2 separate regions of the Homo sapiens genome follow, and region 1 is linked to region 2. Evidence: promoter capture Hi-C in 16 types of primary human blood cells and fetal thymus (Javierre and others, 2016). All regions are on one chromosome and are shown on one strand. The core of a region is centred on a gene start or on the middle of the fragment in contact, and the rest is flanking DNA. Distances in the headings are between cores, read along the strand shown.

Region 1 (5,870 bases), core at 1,611-4,110, 300 kb after region 2:
TGCCAATTTAAAAAATCACTCTTGTGTCTAGAGTTATGAGGGATATTGACCAGCAGGGTTTTCTTTTTCTTGTAATTTCTGCCTAATTTTCGTTTTAGGGTAATGCTGGCATCATAAAATCAGCTGCAGCCAGGCATGGTGGCTCACACCTGTAACCCCAGCACTTTGGGAGGCCAGGGTTGGAGGAACCCTGGAGCCCAAGTGTTTGAGACCAGCCTGGGCAACATAGGGAGATCCCATCTCAACAAAAAAATAGAGAAAATTTGCTGGGTGTGGTGGCAAATGCCTGTAGTCCCAGCTACTTGGGAGGCTGAAGTGAGAGGAAAACGAGCCCAGGAGGTCAAGACTACAGTGAGATGCGATCATGCTACTGCACTGCAGCCTGGGTGACAGATTGAGACTCTGACTCAAAAACATAAAAAATAAAAATACAAAACATAATAAAATGAATTGAAAATGTTCCTTTGTCCTTAATCCTCTGAAAAACTTTGTGTAGGATTGGTATTATTTCTTCCATTAAATATTTGGTAAAATTCACCAGTGAAGTCATCTGGCTCTGACACTTTCTTTGCTTAAAATTTATAAATCATAAATTCATTTTATTTAACAGCTATAGTGCTATTCAAATTTCCTATTTTTTTGAGTCAGTTAAAGGAATTTTAAAATTCCTGTCTTTACAGGAATTTTAAAATTCCTGTCTTTACAGGAATTTTTCCACTTCATGTAGGCATTAATTCACATGAGATTTTCTTTCATGGATTTTATATCCATAAGATCTGTCATGATATCCCCTCTTTTATTTCTCATATTAATAATTTGAGTTTTCTTTCTTTTTATTCTTGCCAGGTTTATCAGTTGTTTTAATATTTTCAAAGAGGCAACTTTTGGCATTGTGAGTTTTCTCTACTTGTCTGTTTTGCTACAAATAATTATCTTTTAAAGAGATTAAAATATGAGGAATAAATTTAATGTTTCTTTCTCAAAGATTTCCCATTCCAGGTACTCTTCATTCCTTTGCACAGATCCACATTTTCATAATTTTTCTTCTGCCTAGAGAGCTTTCTTATAGTGCACATTTACTTGCAATGAATTTTGTCAGCTTTCATTGATCTGAAAATCATTTTAAACTTCATTTTAAAATTTTTAAATTTAGTTTTTAATAAACCTACATCACTCAACAGTACTCTCATCCAAGTACTAACTAGGCCCAACCATGCTTAGCTTCCAGGATTGGACATGACTTCATTTTTGAAAGACATTTTCACTGGTAGATAATTACTGGTTGAATATTTTTTCTTTTAGCACTTTAAAGATACCATTTGATTGTTTTCTGGTCTGCATAACTTCTCATGAGAAAATTGTTACTTTTTAAAAAATCTTTGTTCCTTTGGCTACTTTTCTCTTCCACTGGTTTTCAACAATTTGAAACTGATTTCCTTTTATGGAGCTTTCTGTATACCGCTTCTACTTTGGGTCTGTTGACTTTTTTGGATCTCTGGATTGACAGTTTTTATCAAATTTAGAAAGTACTTGACCATCTTTCAAATATTTTTGCTCACCTATCTTTTGCTAGGATTTCATTTGCATATACGTTAGACCACTTGATATTGCCCCTTGGCTCAATTCACTTATATTTGGTCTTTTTTCTGTATACTTCATTTTGCATAGTTTCTATTGTTCTTACCCAAGTTCACTGATTGTTTCCTCTGCAATGTTTAATGGGCTCTTAATCCCATCCGGTTATTTTTCATTTAATAAATTATATTTTTATCTCTAAAAATTTTATTAACATATTTTATGTCTTCCATTTCTCTCCTCCTTATGTTCACATTTTCCTTTAATTCACTTGTGTATTTTTTAAATTTATAGTAGCTGTTTTAATGTTTTTGCTCGCCAATTACATCACTTCTGTCGTTTCTTGTCCCATTTCTATTGACTAATTTTTATCCTAGTTATGGATCATATTTTCTGCTTCTTTGCAGGCTGAGCCATTTTTTGTTAGATGCTGGACATTGTGAACTTTACATTGTGAAGTACTGAATTTTTGTATCCTTTTAAAGAGTTTTGATTTTTGTTCTGATGTTCACTTTAATACACCTGAGGATTAGTTTGAACCATTTGAGGCTTTGTATTAAGCTTGTTATGGTGGGTCCAGAGAAGACTTTACTTGGCTGTTTGTCCACACTCCTAAGGCCTGACTCTTCTGAGGGCTGTACCTGATGCCCTGTCTATGACAAGGCCTCTCCAATCCAACTGGTGGGAACACAAATTATTCTCTGTATGAATGCTGGTAATTATTTTGCTCATTCTTTTCCGGTGTCTACTTCCAAAATTCCTTTCAGTCGCGTGCAAATCAGTACTTAGTCAAATATTTTATGAAACCCCTCTACAGTTCTGCAGAAGTCTGTCTCTACTCAATGCCCTACCCTCTAGTTCTCTGTCTCACAATTCTAGCAGCCTAATCTCCCCGAACTGTGATTTCTGTCTTCATGAGTTTTTTGTAATATTCCTTTAAAGTTATTGTAGTATTCCTATGGAGTATGCAACTTTATTCTGGAAGGTAATTAAGTGACTTTTGGATCAACTTCATCTTTTCAAGGTTTGATTTTACGTGTTTTAAGGTAAGTAGAGGTAGCCTTTACTGTAGAACTAGTTTAGCTCTACTATTAAGCTGAAACCCTCTGGGATCTCTACTCAATGGCCCATTTATTCAATGAGGTCTCTCTACTTTCTCTGATGGGCACTAAAATGATCCCCAGGCTTTTGGGAGTTCTAAAAATTTTCTACATTACAGCACCTCTGTAAATGTTCATTCCACAGCATTTGTTCTTTGCCCAGCCTCATGGAGTTTCACCCTTCAGGCACACAGATTTGAATTTAGTCTCAAAGACTCAAGGGAGGAAACCCTATGCAAATTTCTGGAGTTCTTTTTCTAGCTCCTTTCTCTCCTTTTTACTGTCCCACAAATTTTAGCTGCTTCGGAACCCCTGAACTTCAATTACTATCATCCCATCTTAATGAGACCTTCCTACACTGTGGTTAGAAATTGTCCCCAGACAGAAAGCCAGTGCAGTTAAAATGCTCATCTAGATTATTTCCCTTCACTCAAAGATCACAGTCCTGTGCTGCCTGTTGTCCATTTGTTTAATTCCACCCTCTCCACCCTGTTTCTTGTTGTCTACAGTAGGAGGGAGAGGAGTCCCAGAGTAGTTACTTCTTTAAGCATGAAAGCAAAAGTCTAGCTTTGACTTAATAATCAAACTGATTCTTTGTAGCAGTCCCTGAAATTCTTGAACTTACAGAGTCAGTGATTGAAAATGGTTGATGAAACTTCCTTTGCTTTTGAACATGAAAGAAAGCGCATGAGGATGGAGGCAGTAAGATGCTATATTAATGCTGTCAAGCCCATAGTTCATGGCAATAGTCTTTCTAATGAAAATCATGCCGGGGGTATTATTATAAGGCCATAATATCAATTTATTTATTTATTTGTTAATTGACAAATTAACATATTTAATTTCCCTTTTTCCACAGAGCATCATAAGGGGTCCTATTGGGGAAGAGAAGAATCGTTGAGTTTCAGCCAAGCTTTATCTCCTTATTGAATCATAAAAAATAATACAGCTGGCCTGGCGCAGTGGCTTATGCCTATAATCCCAGCACTTTGGGAGGCCGAAGCGGGTGGATCACTTGAGGTCAGGAGTTTGAGACCAGCCTGGCCCACATGGTAAAACGCTGTTTCTACTAAAAATACAAAAATTACCCAGGTGTGATGGCGGGGGCCTGTAATCCCAGCTACTTGAGGGGCTGAAGCAGGAGAATTGCTTGAACCCAGGAGGTGGAGGTTGCAGTGAGCTGAGATCGTGCCACTGCACTCCAGCCAGAGCAACAGAACGAGACTCCGTCTCAAAAAATAATAATAATATAGCTCATAAAATCTATGCCTGGAGAGATTTTCGTGTTTGCTGCTGTAAAAGTGACAACAAATAATATACCCATTATTAATAAATGGTTTTCAGTTATTTATTGATTTAACAAACTATTTTTTAATGCCTACAATGTGCCAGGCACTATAGTAGGCACTGGACATACAAATATAGAGAAGAAACAGCATCTGATGTCAGGGAGCTTATGACACAGTGAACAGTCCAGCTCCTTGTCTTAGTCCACCTGTGCTGCTATCACAATATAACACAGATTGGGTAATTTATAAAGAGCTGAACTTATTTCCCACAGTTCTGGTGGCTGGGAAGTCCAAGATCAAGGTTCTGTGTCTGGTGAGGGCATTTTCCTCATAGATGGCACCATCTAGGTGTCATCACATGTCAGAAAGGATGGAAGGGCAAAAGGGGGATGAACACTATGTCCTTTCACATGGTGGAAAAAGTGAGAAGAGTGAATCCATTTTCTCAAGTCTTCTTCTAAAGGCCCTATCCCATCCATTAGGGTTCTGCCCTCATGACTTAATCACTTCTTACAGGACTCCATCTTTTAGTATCACATTGCCGATTAAGTTTCAACATAAGAATTTTAAGGGGCCCATTTAGACCATAATACTTCTGAGCATTTCATTATGATACATTATATAACTGCAAAAATAAGAATGTATATAGGGCATTATGGGAACACAGAGAAGAAATATCTAATGCAGTTTAGAGGAGAGAAATTTGTAAAGTCAAATACAGCAGAAAATGCCAGAGGAATAACTAAGAAATGTCTATTGGATTTGGCAATATGAAGATTATGGTTAATTATATCAGAATAGTACTATGGGAGCAGATGGCATGGTTAAGAAGTGAAAAAAGTAGAGACAATGCATGAAGACATCCTTCTTGAAATGTGGATTAGAAATGGAAGAAGAGGCCGGGCGTGGTGGCTCAAGCCTGTAATCCTAGCACTTTGGGAGGCCGAGGCAGGCGGATCACTTGAGGTCAGGAGTTCGAGACCAGCCTGGCCAACATGGTGAATCTCATCTCTACTAAAAATATAAAAATTAGCCAGGCCTGGTGATGCGTGCCTGATATCCCAGCTACTCAGAGGCTGAGGCAGGAGAATCACTTGAACCTAGGAGGCGGAGGTTGCAGTGAGCTGAGATTGTGCCGCTGCACTGCACTCCAGCCTGGGTGACAGAGACTCCATCTAAAAAATAAATAAATAAATAAAAGAAGAAGAAGAAGAAATGGAAGAAACCCCGTTAAAGGTGGTGAAGAAATATAGTGTGGGATTAATACCTGAAGCCCTAGTGCTTGCATTTGGAAACTGCTCTAATGTTTCTTAGTGTGATCTTGATCCAGTTACTTAAACCTCTCTGTCACTTGGTTTTCTTTTCTTTTTCTTTTTAGATGGAGTCTTGGTTTGTTGCCAGGCTGGAGTGCAGTGGCGCGATCTCAGCTCACTGCAACCTCCACATCCCAGGTTCGAACAATTCTCCTGCCTCAGCCTCCCTCCGAGTAGCTGGGACTAAGGTGCGCACCACCACGCCCAGCTAATTTTTGTATTTTTAGTAGAGACAGGGTTTCACTAGGTTGGCCAGGATGGTCTCGATCTCTTGACCTCATGATCCACCTGCCTCCGCCTCCCAAAGTGCTGGGATTACAGGCGTGAGCCACCATGCCTGGCTGTCACTTGGTTTTCTTAATCTGTAAATTGGGACAATACTAATAATGCTCATAAAATTGTTATTAGGATTAAATTAGTTAATACATGTAAAAAGAAGTCTAGTACATGGAAAATTCTGAATAATTGCAACCATTGCCATTATTATTAAGTAGGAGAATTGAAAGTTGAGGGAGAACATATCTATCAATCTAGTTTTTAGTAATCAAGAAGGCAAAGTCATCTACTGACAGTACCTGTTAATGGGCTTAATT
Region 2 (5,852 bases), core at 1,718-4,217:
CCACTTGGCAGGGCTGCAAATTTTCCAAACTTTTACACTCTGTTTTCCTTTTAAATATGTTTCAGTTTCAGATTATCTCTTTGCTCACAAATATAAGCTTATGCTGTTAGAAGCACTCAGGTCACATGTTGAATGCTTTGCCACTTAGAAATTTCTTCTGCCAGATACCCTAAATCATCATTCTCAAGTTCAAAGTTCCACAGATCTCTAGGGCAGGGGCACAATGCCTAGAACCTCTTTGCTAATGAATAACAAAAGTGACCTTTGCTCCAATTCCCAACAAGTTCTTCATCTCCATCTGAGACCACCTCAGCCTGGACTTCAGTGTCCATGTCACTATCAGCATTTTGATCACAACAATTTAACAAGTCTGTGGGAAGTTTCAAACATTCCCTCTTCTTCCTGTCTTCTTCTGAGCCATTCAAACTGTTCCAACCTCTGCCCATTACCAAGTTACAAAATTGCTTCCACATTTTCAGATATCTTTATAGCAATGCCTCTCTCCTGGTACCAATTTTCTGTATTAGTCCATTCTCACATTGCTATAAAGAACTACCTGAGAATGGGTAATTTATAATGAAAGAGGTTTAATTGGCTCATGGTTCCACAGGTTGTACAGGAAGCATGGCTGGGGAGGCCTCAGGAAACTTACAATCATGGTGGAAGAAGAAGGGGAAGCAGGCACGTCTTCACATGAGGAAGCAGGAGAGAGAGGGCAAAGGTGGAATGCAACACATTTTTAAACAACCAGATCTCATGAGAACTCACTATCATGAGAACAGCAAGGGGGAAATTCACCCCCATGATTCAATCACCTCCCACCAGGCCCTTCCTCCAATGCTTGGGATTACAATTCGACATGAGATTTGGGTGGGGACACAGAGCCAAACCATATCACTATTCAAAGGAAAAGACGTTATTATATGAAGAAGACACATGCACACGTATTTTTATTGCATCTCAGTTCACAATTGTAAAGATGTGGAACCAACGTAAGTGCCCATCAACCAGTGGGTGGATAAAGAAAATGTGGTATACATACAGCATGGAAGAGTACTCAGCCATAAAAAGGAATAAAATAAAGTCTTTTGTAGCAACTTGAAGGGAGCTGAAGGCCATTATTCTAAGTGAAGTAACTCAGGAATGGAAAACCAAATACCATATTTTCCCACATATAAGTGGGAGCTAAGCTATGAATATGCATAAGCATACAGAGTGTTAAAACGGATTTTGGAGATCCCAAAAAGGGAGGGTAGGAGAAGGGTGTGGGATTAAAAACTACATATTGGGTACAACATACACTACTTGGGTGATGAGTGCACTAAAATCTCAAAATTCACCGCTGTATAATTCATCCATATAACCAAAACCCACTTGTACCCCCAAAAGCCATTGAAATTTTTTTTAAAATGTTTAAAAAAAGGAAGAAAGACACAAGGTAGGCATTCTTTAAATGTGGAAAGAATGGCTAAGGGAAGCAAGAATAATGTGAGAATAAGCACAGAGTAGCAGTGAATGTGGTATACATAGGGAAAAGTGAAGGAAAAGGGTGTCCAGAGACGCGGGCTCTCTGTACTGATTGTGCGGAAACCGGAGTTAACTCACAATTTTCAGTGGCACTAGCACTGTCAAGTGCTTTGTTTGTTGTTTGTTTTTTCACCCAAGAAAGGAAGATGTTCAGACTACAGATTGTGGTCAAGAAATTATATATTTTAGGTGAACAAACAGCGAGGTTTGGACATGAAGGAAGGCACATACACTGCACAGAGAAACAGCTCTTCCCAACTCTAAAATTTAGACGTTTATTTGGGAAATTTTGTTGGGCAGTCTAAATGCAGGAAGATTAAAAAGGACTTGGAAAATCAACAGGGTATCCTGCCTTCATGATGCTGTGAGGCATTGTGCCCCAGAGTGAAAACTGCATTTTTGTGAGTTGGTGTGGCAGGCTTGGAATACCACCTCTTTCAGCAGCTCACTCAGGTCTGGCGAGGGCTATTTGTACCTCAACGAGGGCTTCTCTCCAAGAAAGCCCTGAATCCTTTTCCTCCTTTTTCCTGCAGATTCACTATAGGACACTTTTTGAAGCAAGAGCATGCATTTTCCCCCTGGCGCTCTGCAGCGGTTCTCAGAGCCCAGTGTCACTCACATAGGTGGGACTGCTCTCAGTTCAGAGAGCGCTGGGACACTTAAGATGAAAAGTCCCTGGAAGTTAGCAAACAGCCATCTGTCACTCTGGCATCGATTTACTAAAAGTGACTTCTAGGGTATTCTAAACCACTTTTAAAAAACAAATGAGTCACTTCGACTTCCTCACCCCGCAAGAGATAGGAAGGCAGCAGTGGAGTGCTCGCTCAGGAGCTGTATTTGTTTAGCGATTAGCCTAGAGCTTTGATTTTAGGGCAAAAGCGAGCCAGACAGTGCGGCAGACGTAAGGATCAAAAAGGCCACCTATCATTCGCCGGGGACGCCTGCCTCCTTACCCTGATAACGTAACTATTTCTCTGCATAGGATTTTAGTTTTTGTGTTTTTGTTTTGTTTTATTCTGTTTAATCACTTCAAGTATCTCATCCATTATTTGAAGCGGGCTCGGAGGAAACGTGCCGCATCCTCCAGTCCTTGTGCGTCTGTTTAGGTCTCTCCGAAGCAGGTCCCTCTCGACTCTTAGATCTGGGTCTCCAGCACGCATGAAGGGGTAAGGGTGGGGGGGTCCCCTATTCCGGCGCGCGGCGTTGAGCACTGAATCTTCCAGGCGGAGGCTCAGTGGGAGCGCCGAGAACTCGCCAGTACCGCGCGCTGCCTGCTGCCTGCTGCCTCCCAGCCCAGGACTTGGGAAAGGAGGGAGGGGACAAGTGGAGGGAAAGTGGGGCCGGGCGGGGGGTGCCTGGGAAGCCAGGCTGCGCTGACGTCACTGGGCGCGCAATTCGGGCTGGAGCGCTTTAAAAAACGAGCGTGCAAGCAGAGATGCTGCTCCACACCGCTCAGGCCGCGAGCAGCAGCAAGGCGCACCGCCACTGTCGCCGCTGCAGCCAGGGCTGCTCCGAAGGCCGGCGTGGCGGCAACCGGCACCTCTGTCCCCGCCGCGCTTCTCCTCGCCGCCCACGCCGTGGGGTCAGGAACGCGGCGTCTGGCGCTGCAGACGCCCGCTGAGTTGCAGAAGCCCACGGAGCGGCGCCCGGCGCGCCACGGCCCGTAGCAGTCCGGTGCTGCTCTCCGCCCGCGTCCGGCTCGTGGCCCCCTACTTCGGGCACCATGGACACCTCCCGGCTCGGTGTGCTCCTGTCCTTGCCTGTGCTGCTGCAGCTGGCGACCGGGGGCAGCTCTCCCAGGTCTGGTGTGTTGCTGAGGGGCTGCCCCACACACTGTCATTGCGAGCCCGACGGCAGGATGTTGCTCAGGGTGGACTGCTCCGACCTGGGGCTCTCGGAGCTGCCTTCCAACCTCAGCGTCTTCACCTCCTACCTGTAAGTACTTCCCCACGTCACTCCGGGAGAGAGACTAAGAGGGGAAGGAAGGTTCGTCCAAGGCGAGGCTGGAGGCTCCTCGGCGCCCGCCTGCTCGTGGGGGAGGGGGGCGAGTTTGTCAAGGGCATCCTGGCCAGGCCTGTTAGGGCCCCCAGAGAAATGCACGTGTCTCGGGGAGTAGCGTGCCGGCACTTTCTGGACCCGCAGAGAAATGGCTTCGAGTGCAACCCGGGAAAGCGCTGCTGCGCCGCAGCTTCCCAGTCCAGCGCTAGAAACATCGCAGGGCGAATTCCTGCAAATGCAGGCATTTGCGTGCGGAGTGGACATTTGTGACCCAGAGCCTGGTACCCAAAGGCAGGCTGCCATCTGGTCCCCGCCCCAACCGCCTCTCTGCGTCTAGTCGCATTCCACGAAAAGATGGTCTGTAGAAAGTTTCCCCAAAGGAGAAACAACTTGCCCAGCTCCAAAGGGTTTTTAGTCTGCATCCCTTGCACTGTGACGTGATGTAACCTTTTTGGGGTTTTTTCCTCTTTTCCTCCCTTCCTTCCTCCCTTCTTCCTTCCTTCCCTCCCTCCTTTCTTTTTATTTTCTTTCTTTTTTAACGGCGTGATTAAAATGTGGCAACCACAAACCCCGATTAGAGCTGCCAGAACGTTATCTTTACCTTTGGCTGCCCGCGCCGCCCTTTGAAGTGCCCGCGGCCGCTGTGTAATCTTTAACCATCTCTTCCCCCGGGGAGGAAAGGGGAAGTGGGCTGAAGGCTGTTGGGCTGGTAAACAGCGGCACCGACACCCAAAGGGAGACCTGAAGCTCTCTATCATCCCTGGGGGATTCTCCCACCCCTTCTCTCCCCACTGCAACTTCCAAAGCCCTGAGGCGGCGGCTCATTGCGTAATTTTTTCTGTGGAAAACCCAGGCCCGAAGGTAACAGGTAGTTGGGTGAACGCGGTGACCCAGGAGGAACCCTATTCTCGGAGACCAAGGCGACTACTCTCTCCACCCCCGTGCAAAGCATCTGGGGCTTCATTCCTTCCAGCAGAGAGGCCAGGTTCTAGGCCACTCTGGGAAACAGGTGCTCCTTACCACAAGGTGAAACATTTAGGTTTTAGATCAAGACATTGCAGCGAGCCCACCCCAAGCCCATGCAGTCCCAGTTTTCGGCTTCTCTGATGTACCTTGGCAGGAGAGAGTTGGGATGTTTGTGAACCAGTTCTTCCATCTGTTTAGTTGTTTTCTGGAGGGAAGAAACATGAAGAGGCTTGCACAACATTTTCCACTAGGTAGTGATTCTTTTTCTGGAGACAGAGTGAGGAAGAAAAAAACATCTTTTACTTGCTTTAATATTGTCTTTAAAGAAAGGTACCATTCTGCTAGATTTTAGGATTGGTAGATGGCAGGTCGCCTCCTCCTCTACCATAAAGCTATTTTGACTGCTTTTTCTTTTTTACCTGAAAGAATGTTAAAACTGTTTCCCCACCAGGTTTCCCTTCAATTGCACTCGTGCATGTGGTAGTGATATCGTTCCAGGAATGGAAATCTCTCCTAAATGATCACGCTCTCAGAATTCACATTTCCTCCTCCTGAACAGCTATCTCTACTACAAAGCAGAATACTCATCCCCAACCACTCTAGTTTAACTGCTAAAGTCAGTGTTGCAAGGATCCCGCGCTCTCCAATGCAGTGAATTTCTGAGACCAGTTTGGCAATTTTGCTTGGCAGCCTATAACTCCTCTTCCCCATCACCCTGAAGAAGTTTGACTGTATGCAAGGGAGGTGTGCAGTACCCCCAGACACTTAACTTACTATTTAAATCATACATTCATTATAAAATATGTTTAAGGATACAGAAAATAAGCTTATGAATAGTTCCAGATTGCTTGCTTCTCTCACTTGAAAGAACAAACATTTGTTAGGCTTCCGTTACTAAAAGTTGGCATAAAATTCTGCTTTAAACCATTTCCCACATACCTCAAATGCATTTAACTGTGTCCTCCATGTGCTCAGGGGAACTTACTGCCACCTACTGCCAATGTTCCCTATCTATCTATAGATAGAACAATCTATCTATCTATATTATAGATAACCTCTTGAAGTTAAGATACTATTAGGAAATTAAGTGCCATATTATTCTCATGTGATGACAGCCTGTACCCTGGCCTAAGAAGACATTTTCCCAGTGCCCTGTGAAATATTAAACTCAGAGTATCTGTAAAAAGTGATACAGTAAATGTTAAATACTTATTTCTAATGCAACACAGTTCAGGGAATATGAGTGCTGAATATAGAAGTCAGTCCTGAAGTAAATAAGCAATGTGGTGTTCTTTATAATGTGTGATTTCATAATTTGGTGTCCCTATATACTAAAAAATGCCAGGGCCCATGGGATGCCC

The links. Contacts are between HindIII fragments. The CHiCAGO score rates a contact against its expected background, and 5 or more counts as called.
Region 1: a contact is called between a fragment that was not itself captured here and the fragment with the promoter of LGR5 in region 2, in 1 of 17 cell types (activated CD4 T cells). The highest score is 5.9, in activated CD4 T cells.

What each region holds. Positions count from the first base shown.
Region 1 is chr12:71,734,510-71,740,379 of GRCh38, forward strand. No RefSeq gene overlaps it. Among named protein-coding and RNA genes, the nearest start is that of RAB21, 17 kb to the right of the region's middle. The HindIII fragment of the contact is 1,452 bases long and covers 2,135-3,586 here.
Region 2 is chr12:71,436,831-71,442,682 of GRCh38, forward strand. LGR5 (leucine rich repeat containing G protein-coupled receptor 5) reads left to right here and starts at 2,968. Exons shown (of 18, transcript NM_003667.4): 1 at 2,968-3,462. The coding sequence starts at 3,251. It overlaps LOC124902962 (a long non-coding RNA gene), which reads right to left. Exons shown (of 3, transcript XR_007063364.1): 2 at 4,638-4,757. The HindIII fragment of the contact is 5,220 bases long and covers 96-5,315 here.